2 separate regions of the Homo sapiens genome follow, and region 1 is linked to region 2. Evidence: promoter capture Hi-C in human tissues and cell types (Jung and others, 2019). All regions are on one chromosome and are shown on one strand. Each heading gives the region's core, a stretch centred on a gene start or on the middle of the fragment in contact. The rest is flanking DNA. Distances are from core to core; before and after follow the strand shown.

Region 1 (5,597 bases), core at 1,190-3,689, 460 kb after region 2:
GAATAGTGAATAACCTACGTTCCAATAATATAATTTCTTCCCATGGTATTTTTTTTTGGCGGGGGTGGGGGGTATAGGGTTTCACTCCTATCACCCAGGCTGGAGTGCAGTGGCATGATCTTGGCTCACTGCAACCTCTGCCTCCCAGGCTCAAGTGATCCTTTCACCTCAGCCTCCCAAGTATCTGGGACTACAGGCACCCACCACTGCACCTAGTTAATTTTTGTTTTTATAGAGACAGGGTTTTGCCATGTTGCCCAGGCTGGGATTAAACTCCTGAGCTCGAGTGATCCACCTGCCTTGGTGTCCCAAAGTGCTGGGATTACAGGCATGAGCCACTGCACCTGCACACTCCCCCATGGTATTTAATAAAGCTTCATTTAGTTTTCCATTTCATTTTTTATTCCATTTAAAAATTTTTAAATGCAACAAGAGAGGAGAGGTGGAGGACAACTATATAGTAAGGAAACCTGTCAAATACTAACTCAGCTTGGTTATCAAGGTTAACATCATCACTGACAGGTCATGTGATATGGTTTGGATCTGTGTCCCGGCCCAAGTCTCATGTTGAATTGTAATCCCCAATGTTGGAGGTGGTGCCTGGTGGGAGGTGATTATATGATGGGGGTGAACTTCTTGTGAGTGGTTTGGCACCATCATTTTGGTGCTGTCCTCACCATAGTAAGTGAGTTCTTGTGACACCTGGTCATTTAAAAGTGTGTGGCACCTCCTTCCCCTCTCTTTCTTGCTCCTGCTTTCACCATGTGACATGCTTGCTCTCCCTTCACCATCCACCATAATTGGAAGCTTTCTGAGGTCTCCCAAGAAGCTGCTATGCTTCCTGTACAGCCTGCAGAACAATGAGCCAATTAAACCTCTTTTCTTTATAAATTACCCAGTCTCAGGTATTTCTTTATAGCTGTGCAAGAATAGACTAATACAGAAAGTTGGTATTGAGGAGTGGGGCATTGCTATAAAGACACCTGAAAATGTGGAAGCAACTTTGGAATTGGGTAATGGGCAGAGGTTGGAAGAGTGTGGAGGGTTCAGAAGAAGAAAAGATGATGAGGGAAAATTTGGAACGTTCTAGAGACTTGTTGAATAGTTGTGACCAAAATGCTGATAGTGACATGGACAGATATTGGACAGGCTGAGGAGGTCTCAGATGGAAATATGGAACTTATCGTGAACTGGAGCAAAGGTCACTTTTGCTATGCTTTAGCAAAGAGCTTGGTTGGATTGTGCCCCTGCCCTAGGGATCTATGGAATTTTGAACTTGAAAGAGATGATTTAGGGTATCTGGTGGAAGAAAGTTCTAAGCAGAAAAGTGTTTGAGACGTGGCCTGGCTGCTTCTAACAACCTATAGCTCATATGTATGAACAAAGAAATGACCTGAAACTAAAACTTATATTTAAAGGGGAAGCAGAGCATTAAAATTTGGAACATTTGCAGCCTGGCCATGTGGTAGAAAAGAAAGGCCCATTTTCAGGAAAGGAATTCAAGCAGGCTGCAGAAATTTTCATAAGTAAAGAGGAGCAAAGTGATAATATCCAAGACAATGGGGGAAGAGCTTCAAAGGCATTTCAGAGACCTTCAAGGCATCCCCTCCCATCACAGGCCTGGAGGTCTAGGAGGACAAAATGGTTTGTGGGCCAGGCACAGGACAGCCTTGGGACACTGCTGCCTGTGTGCCAGCCACTCTAACTCTAGCTGTGGCTAAAAAGGGCCCAAGTACAGCTTGGGCCACTGCTTCAGAGAGTGCAAGTAATAAGCCTTGACAGTTTGCACATGGTGTTAAGCCTACAGGTGCACAGAGTACACAAGTTGAGGCTTGGGAGCCTCCGCCTAGATTTCAGAGGATGTATGGAAAACCCTGTATGTCCAGGCAGAAGCCTGCTGCAGGAGTGGAGCCCTCATGATGAACCTCTTCTAGGGTGATGCAGAGGGAAAATATGAGGTTGGACCCCACACACAGAGTCCCCACTGAGGCACTGCCTAGTGGAGCTGTGAGAAGAGGGTTATCATCCTCCAGACCCTGGAATGGAAGATCCACTGGCAGCTTGCACCCTGTGCCTGGAAAGCCATAGGCACTCAATGCCAGCCCCTGAGAGCAGTTGTTCTGGGGGCTGAACCAGCAAAGCCACAGGAGCAGAGCTTCCCAAGGCCTTGGGAGCCCCTTCCCTTGCATCAGAGTGCCCTGGATGTGAGACATGAATTCGAAGGAGATTATTTTTGAGCTTTAAGATTTAATGGTTGCCCTGCTGGGTTTTGGACTTGCATGGTGCCTGTAGCCCCTTTCTTTTGGCTGATTTCTCCTTTTTGAAATAGGAGTATTTACCCCAGGGGTGTTCAATCTTTTGGCTTCCCTGAGCCACAGTGGAAGAAGAATAGTCTTGGTCCACATATAAAATACACTAACACTAACGAGAGCTGATAAGCTAAAAAAAAATTGCAAAACATATCTCATAGTGTTTTAAGAAACTTGTGTTGAGCCATGTCCAAAGCTGTCCTGGGCTGCATGTGGCCCATGGGCCATGAGTTGGACAAGCTTGATTTACACAACAGCTATACCCCCACTGTCTCTGGAAGTAACTAACTTGTTTTTGATTTTACGGACTCATAGGTGGAAGGGACTTCCCGTTTCAGATGAGACTTTGGACTTTGGACTTTGGACTTTTGGGTTAATGCTAGAATAAGTTAAAATTTTGGGGGACTGTTGGAACGCATGGTTGTACCTTGAAATGTGAAAATGACATGAGATTTGGGAGGGGCTGGGGGTAGAATGATATGGTTTGGATCTGTGTTCCTGTCCAACTCTCATGTCAAATTGTAATCCGCAATGTTGGAGGTGGGGCCTGGTGGAAGGTAATTGAATCATGAGAGTGTTTCTCATGGATGGCTTAATACCATCCCCCTGGTTGCTGTTCTCATGATAGTGAGTGAGATCTCATGAGATCTGGTTGTTTAAAAGTGTGTAGCACCTTCCCCCTCTCTCTCTTCCTCTTGGTCTGGCCATGTGAGATGCCTTGCTTCACCTTCACCTTCCACCATGATTATAAGTTTCCTGAGGCCTCTCCAGAAGCTGCCATGCTTCCTATACAGTCTGCAGAACCATCAGCCAATTAAACCTCATTTCTTTATAAATTACCCAGTCTCTGGTATTTCTTCATAGCAGTGTGAGAGAAGACTAATACCTCATGTTAATGGCAATGTACCCTTGATATTGAAACTGAGGACAAACCCAATTAGGCCCACCAAATTTAACTTACCTTACTTGTCTTTATTAATTTGCTTTTAGTTGATTTTAAAACCTATATAGCTAAAAGTCACATTGCTAAGTAATATATAACTAAATTTCCACTAGCTTTCTTGTAGATAACATTTCTGATGTATAGATCACCATGGTAATGGTTGCTTAAGTTGTTTTTCAGGAACTTAGAGAGTCAGTTCTTGTCCAGTTCAAGCCAGCTGAGACCACCAACCTTTCAACTGGGCCTGTGTGAGCATCTGATGGGTCACCTTTTGATGTCAGAGGGCCAAAAACTCCACCCTCAGATCATGCTAATGCTGTAATTTTCTGAACATATATTCTATGAAGAGCCATGAAGTCTGTTATGCTTGCACAGATGACCAATTACCTCAGTTTTCCTTACCACGATCACCTTTCCCCATGCTTTGGACCATCTTGCTCCTCTATTCTATAAATATCCCTAAAATTCCATCTTCAGGGAGGCAGATTTGAGACCTGTTTTCCCATATCCTTGTTTGGCTGCCTCATGAATAAACTCTTCCTCTGCAGCAAAACACATCATCTCAGTGATTGACATACTGCATGACAGGAAGAAGAAGCCTGGTTCAGTAACAATATGATGGGATGAGAATGGTATTTCACCTCTGTGATTTTTTCCAAAACCTATGACCCCAGTCTAACCATGAGAAAAACACTGGACAAATACGGACATTTGCAAAAACAAACAAACCCTGGCCAGTGCTTCTCAAAACTGTCAAAGTCATCAAGGACAACAAAGTATGAGAAACTATCACAGACCAGAAGAAGCTAGGGAGACATGATGACAGAATGTAATGTGGTGTCCTGAAGAGGATCCTCAAACAGCAAATGGACTTTGGGGGGAAAACTGGTGAAATGCTAATAAAGTGTTTAATTTATAGTCACGTACCAATGTTGATTTCTTAGTTGTGATATATGTCCCATGGTAATATAGGATGTTAACAATAGGGGAAACTGAGTGAGGGGTATGTGAGAATTCTCTGCCCTATCTTCACAACTTTTGTTTACATTTGAAACTATTCTGAAATTAAAAGCATAATTAAACAGCTGCACCCAGTAAACATTTCTGTTTTCCTTGAGTTCGCTTTTAGGCAAAAAATATTTCTCCCTGTGGTGTAGAGTGAGAAAAGCTGTGTAGAGAGAATGGCCCCTGAGGAAAACCAACATTTACAAGGCAGTCAGAGAAAGGAGGAAAGACAAGAACCATTGTTGAAGTCAGGAGAGTACAATGTTTAGGAGAGGGTCAACAGGATCCAATGCCAAGAAGTCTAGTAAGATAAGGACCTAAATGTCCACCAAAAAATAGAATTAAAAAGCCCTGAAACAGACATACATCTAAATGGAAACTTGATATATTATAAGGTAGCCTTATGAATCAGTGGGGGAAATGTTGAGTTATTCAATAAATGATTTTTGGGCAGTCAGTTACCCATATTGATCCCTACCTCATAGCATTTATAAAAAATCAACTCCAGCCAGGCACCATGGCTCATGCCTGCAATCCCAGCACTTTGGGAGGCCAAGGCAGGCAGATCACCTGAGGTCAGGAGTTCAAGACCAGCCTGACCAACATGGTGAAACCCCATCTCTACTAAAAATACAAAAATTAGCCAGGCATGGTGACGTGTGCCTATAATCCCAGCTATCCAGGAGGCTGAGGCAGGAGAATCACTGGAACCCGGGAGGTGGAGGCTGCAGTGAGCCGAGATTGCACCACCGCACTCCAGCCTGGGCGACAGAGCAAGACTCTGTCTCAAAAAAACCCAAAAAATTAACTCCATGTCAAGGACTTGAATGTGAAGAAAAACCTGTATAAATCATTTAGAAGAAAATATAGGAGAATTTTTTTACCTCAGGATAGAGTAAGATTTCTTAAACAAGATTCCATATCTTCTAACTATAAAATAAAAGATTAATAAACTTTAAAATTACAATGCAAATTAAAACAACAGTGAAATACGCTAATTTATGCCATCAAATTGGCTAAGATTTAAAAGTGTAGCAATAGCAAGATTCGAAGATTTGGAGAAACTGGAACTCTCATACATTGCTGCCAAAATGGAGGCGTTGCCCTTGGCCCAGCCCAGAGGGCACCTGCAGCCCCTGAGAACAGTGGATGCCATACACCTCTAACACCTGCATCTCTTGGCTTGAAGGCTTTATCTGGCTGCAGGAGGAGTCTTGGCTTATGTGAAAGGGAGGCTGAGGTACTAGAGAATTAGCACCCTCGGGAGCAGTTCATAATCAATGTGGGGTGGGAGTTGGTGGAAAATGCCCCAGCTTCCTTACTCCTTGGTAGGACAATTC
Region 2 (5,371 bases), core at 2,193-4,692:
CACTGTAGCCTAGACCTCCAGGGCTCAAGTGATTCTCCCACCTCAGCCTCCCAAGTAGCTGGGATTACAGGCATGCACCACCACACCCAGCTAATTTTTGTTTTGTTTTGTTTTGGAGACAGAATCTCTCTCTGTCACCCAGGCTGGAGTGCAGTGGTGTGATCTCAGCTCAGTGCAACCTCCACCTCCTGGGTTCAAGTGATTCTCATGCCTCAGCCTCCTGAGTAGCTGGGACTACAGGCGTGAGCCACCACGCCCTGATAAATTTTGTATTTTTTTTTTCAGATGGAGTCTCACTCTGTCATACTCAGGCTGGAGTGCAGTGGCGTGATTTTGGTTTATTGCAACCTCTGCTTCCTGGGTTCAAGCGATTCTCCTGCCTCAGCCTCCAGAGTAGCTGGGATTACAGGCGCCTGCCACCATGCCCACCTAGCTAACTTTTTTTTTTTTTTTTTTGAGATAGAGTCTCACTCTGTCACCCAGGCTGGAGTGCAATGGGGCGATATTGGCTCACTACAACCTCCACCTCCCAGGTTCAAGCGATTCTCCTGCCTCAGCCTCCTGAGTAGCTGGGATTACAGGTGGGTGCCACCACGCCAGACTAATATTTGTATTATTAGTAGAGACGGGGTTTCACCACATTGGTCAGGCTGGTTTCGAACTCCTGGCCTCAGGTGATCTGCCTGCCTCGGCCTCCCAAAGTGCTGGGATTACAGGCATGAGCCACTGCGGCTGGCCCAATTTTTGCATTTTTTTGGTAGAGACGGGGGTTTCACTATGCTTCCCAGGCTGGTCTCAAACTCCTGGACTCAAGCGATCTGCCTGTCTCAGCCTCCCAAAGTGCAGGGATTACAGTCATGAGCCACCACTGCACGGCCCCAAAATTTATTTATTTTATTATTATTATTATTTTTTAGATGGAGTCTCCTTCTGTTGCCAGATTGGAATGCAGTGCCACGATCTCAGCTCACTGCAACCTCCCCCTCCTGGGATCAAGTGATTCTTTTTTTTTTAAGACTCTGTCTCAAAAAAAAAGAAAAAAAAAAAAAATATATATATATATATATATATACACGAATTTTGGGCCAGGCACAGTGGCTTATGCCTGTAATCCCAGCACTTTGGGAGGGCCGAGGTGGGTGGATCACAAGGTCAGGAGTTTGAGACCAGCCTGGCCAATATGGTGAAACCCTGTCTCTACTAAAAAATACAAAAATTAGCTGGGCGTGGTGGCACGAGCCTGTAATCCTGGCTACTCTGGAGGCTAAGGCAGGAGAATCGCTTGAACCGGGGAGGCAGAGGTTGCAGTGAGCCAGGATCGCATCACTGCACTCCAGCCTGGGTAACAGAGCAAGACTCTGTCTCAAAAAACAAACAAAACAAAACAAAACAAAATAAATAACGGTGCAAAATTGAATATGCCTTTTTGACTCTCTAAATGCCTCAGATCCATTTACCCTGGGGATTTGTCCTTTCTAGCCCCACCACCATCTCCCCTCTGGAAGACTGCTGACCTATAAGGATAAAGACCAGACTCTTGAGCAGGCACTTAGGGTCTTCCTGCCCATCCCTATCCCCAACTCCCCCTCAGTAATTTTGGCTACTAGTATTTCTCCACATCTGAGGCTATCGTGGGTCTCCCTTCAGTGGTCATGAAGGACAAGGTTGGAGAAGTTTGCCCTCGTGAGTCTGATGAGGGATTGGGTGGGATCCCTCTAATAGCATATGGAGGGGATGAAATGGGCATGAGACCAAAGGCCAGGAGAGCAGCAAGGAGCTGTGGCAATCATCCTGACAAGAGAGACTGTGGCCCAGGCCAGGGTGTGAGGGGAAGATGGAGCCAAGGGGATAGATATCAGAGCTATTTGGGAGGTAAAATTGGCACAAATTGGGTACTCAGCAAATATTTGTTGACTTTCCTGGCTACTCTTTCTAAAGTAGGCTCTTCATTTGCTCTTCTGTTTATTCTTCCTTCATAGCACTTTTCACAGCCTGCAATTACCTTGTTTATCTGCTTGCCTATTGTCTGTTTCCATCAAGCAGAATGTAAACTAAATGAGGGCTGCAAGCTTGATTAGTTTTATTCGAGATAGTGTCCAGCACTTAGCAGATGCTCTCAATAAATCTTTGAGGAATGGCATGGTAATTGATTGGCTGGCACAGAGGGAGGGCAGAGAGGTGAGAGACAAGGCCAGGAGGCCTGTGGTCCTGGGCCTCTGTCTCTGGCCCTGGGAAGGGTGGGCATTGCGCAGGGGTCTAGGGGTCCACGTGGTCCAGAGACTAGCTGCCCAAGTGCCCGTGTCTAGCATTTGAGAAAATGCAATTCCCAGCCAGGCAAGGTGGCTCACGCCTGTAATCCCAGCACTTTGGGACGCCGAAGCGGGTAGATCACCTGAGGTTGGGAGTTCCAGACCAGTCTGACCAACATGGAGAAACCCCGTCTCTACTTAAAAAAAAAAAAATACAAAATTAGCCGGGTGTGATGGCGCATGCCTGTAATCCCAGCTGCTCGGGAGGCTGAGGCAGGAGAATCGCTTGAACCTGGGAGGCAGAGTTTGCGATGAGCCAAGATCGCGCCATTGCACTCCAGCCTAGGCAACAAGAGCGAAACTCTGTCTCAAAAAAAAAAAAAAGAAAGAAAGAAAGAAAAAAGAAAATCCAATTCCCATTCACTTTCTGGCCTCTGGCTGCTGACCCAGGCCCGGGGGTATTTTCAGAGGAAGGGAATTGCGGACCCCGGAGGAACCCGAAATTTGCCCCTCAAGAGTGTAGAAGTGGGTAGCGGAAGATGTGGCCTGGAGCATGGTAAAAGCCTTGAAATTCCAGACTCTGCTTGACTCCTAAACCTGGCAAGGCAGCCCTCGGGCCAGGCAAGCCAGGCGCGAGACTGTGCCTTCCTTCCAGGCCCTAAAGAGGGCAGCACTGGGCCGGGCCCCGGGCGAGGGCGAGGGACACACGCGGTCCGGCACACTGAAAGGGGAGTGTCGGGTAACATGCCCGGGCAAAAGCGAGCGCCGCCCCTGCCTCTCCGCTGCTGGCTGGAACGCTGATCTATCTAGTTGCTGGGGAGACGCCCCCAGATGCCCGGGCCCCACTCGGACTTCAGCACACATCCCGAAGGATGGGGAAAGAAAGAGGCCCCCACGAGCGGGACTCGCAGTGGCCAAGGAGGGGTGAGAGGCGGACAGGGATCAGCTGGCCCCTGCGGCCTGGTTGCACCTGCATGGTGACTAGCTGCCGGGCTGCGCCCCGGGGCGCGGCGAGGAGGCGGGGTCTGGCAGTGCGTTGGGTGGGGGAGGAGCTTCTGGGTGATGTAAGGCCGGGAATGGGAGTGGCCTCTCCTCGACTCGCTGCTAGGAAGGGGGCGGGACTCTCGGTGACCAGACGCCGGGGAGGGGGCAGGCGTTCATTGATAAAACGCTGGGCTCCCCTGGGCGCCAGCGCAGCGTAGCAAATCCAGGCAGCGCCACGCGCGGCCGGGGCCGGGCGGAACCGAGAAGCCGGGACCGCGCTGCGACGCGCCGGCCGCATGGAGCCTGCCGCCGGTTTCCTGTCTCCGCGCCCCTTCCAGCGTGCGGCCGCCGCGCCCGCTCCCCCGGCCGGGCCCGGGCCGCCTCCGAGTGCCTTGCGCGGACCTGAGCTGGAGATGCTGGCCGGGCTACCGACGTCAGACCCCGGGCGCCTCATCACGGACCCGCGCAGCGGCCGCACCTACCTCAAAGGCCGCTTGTTGGGCAAGGTGGGCCGAGGGACGTCCGCGGGGTGGTGATGGTGGAGGTGGGGGTCCCGGCCGGCCTCTTTTCTGGCGCCGAGCAGGGCGTGGGCACTTGACCCCCAACGCGGGGACGCCCGCGGGCCAGACTCGGCCCCCCTGGAACAACCAGCCTGATGCCCCCTCTTCACAGGGGGGCTTCGCCCGCTGCTACGAGGCCACTGACACAGAGACTGGCAGCGCCTACGCTGTCAAAGTCATCCCGCAGAGCCGCGTCGCCAAGCCGCATCAGCGCGAGAAGGTGGGTCCAGGCTCAGCGGGCGAGGGGTGGGGTGGGGACGGTGGCATGGGAACCATGGAAGGATGACGACTCCGCGCCCTCATCGCAGATCCTAAATGAGATTGAGCTGCACCGAGACCTGCAGCACCGCCACATCGTGCGTTTTTCGCACCACTTTGAGGACGCTGACAACATCTACATTTTCTTGGAGCTCTGCAGCCGAAAGGTGAAAGATGGTGATTCCCGCAGGGATGAGAGTGAGGGAGAGAAGACAGTCTTTTTTTTTTTTTTTTTTTTTTTTGAGATGGAGTCTTGCTCTGTTGCCCAGGCTGGAGTGCAGTGGCGCGATCTCGGCTCACTGCAATCTCTGCCTCCCGGGTTCAAGCAATTCTCCTGCCTCAGCCTCCTGAGTAGCTGGGATTACAGGCATGCACCACCACGCCCGGCTAATTTTTGTATTTTTAGTAGAGACAGGGTTTCACCCTGTTGGTCAGGCTGGTCTCAAACTCCTGACCTTGTGATACACCTGCCTTGGCCTCCCAAAGTGCTGGGATTACAGGCGTGAGCCACTACACCCAGCCGAGAAGACAGTCTTAAGACCCAAAGCTGGGGCCCTGTTTCTTCCTCAGGGAGCACAGATGGAGGGGGAGGGGGAGGGAGGGCTCACCAGGGGCTGAGGCAGTGGCTCTCTGCAGTCCCTGGCCCACATCTGGAAGGCCCGGCACACCCTGTTGGAGCCAGAAGTGCGCTACTACCTGCGGCAGATCCTTTCTGGCCTCAAGTACTTGCACCAGCGCGGCATCTTGCACCGGGACCTCAAGTTGGGTGAGACTCCTGAGCCTGGAGGATGGGAGGTTGGGGAGGGAGGGAGGGAGGGAGGAAGGAAAGAATCTGACACACCTCTCTTGCCCCATCTAGGAAATTTTTTCATCACTGAGAACATGGAACTGAAGGTGGGGGATTTTGGGCTGGCAGCCCGGTTGGAGCCTCCGGAGCAGAGGAAGAAGTGAGTTTTGAGGAAAGGGGCCCTGTGTGTGATACAGATGACATGCGTGATAGACAGTGCATATGTATGTGGGAGGCAAGGTGACTGCCTGATGTGTGCATGAGATAAATGGGAAGGGATGATGGGCTGTTCATGCATGTGTGAAGGTGGAGGTGGCAGCCTGTGTTACCGAGACCGGTGGAGAGGGGGAGGATCCTATAGGTGTATGACACAGATAGGGTAGGTGACTCTGAGTCCCTGAGACAGATGGGGGTATACAGATTCTTGGAGGCACATGACTTACCCTTTGTGTGGATGGGGGAAGGTGACAGGCAGCGTGTATGTGTGTGTGAGAGACAGACTGAGAGTGTGGAAATGGTGGGATATGACATTG

Evidence for each region. The method cuts DNA at HindIII sites, captures the fragments that hold promoters and counts their contacts. A contact is called where the count stands out against the background at its distance.
Region 1: a contact is called between a fragment that was not itself captured here and the fragment with the promoter of PLK3 in region 2, in 2 of the 25 tissues and cell types used here (adrenal gland and dorsolateral prefrontal cortex).

The regions. Positions count from the first base shown.
Region 1 is chr1:45,256,592-45,262,188 of GRCh38, forward strand. No RefSeq gene overlaps it. Among named protein-coding and RNA genes, the nearest start is that of LINC01144, 45 kb to the right of the region's middle. The HindIII fragment of the contact is 5,578 bases long and covers 1-5,228 here.
Region 2 is chr1:44,796,935-44,802,305 of GRCh38, forward strand. It overlaps PLK3 (polo like kinase 3), which reads left to right and starts at 3,443. Exons shown (of 15, transcript NM_004073.4): 1 at 3,443-3,739; 2 at 3,906-4,013; 3 at 4,102-4,218; 4 at 4,688-4,817; 5 at 4,911-4,998. The coding sequence starts at 3,530. RefSeq lists enhancers at 2,447-3,115, 2,800-2,859, 2,910-3,299, 4,070-4,119 and a silencer at 3,400-3,679. The HindIII fragment of the contact is 15,221 bases long and covers 1-5,371 here.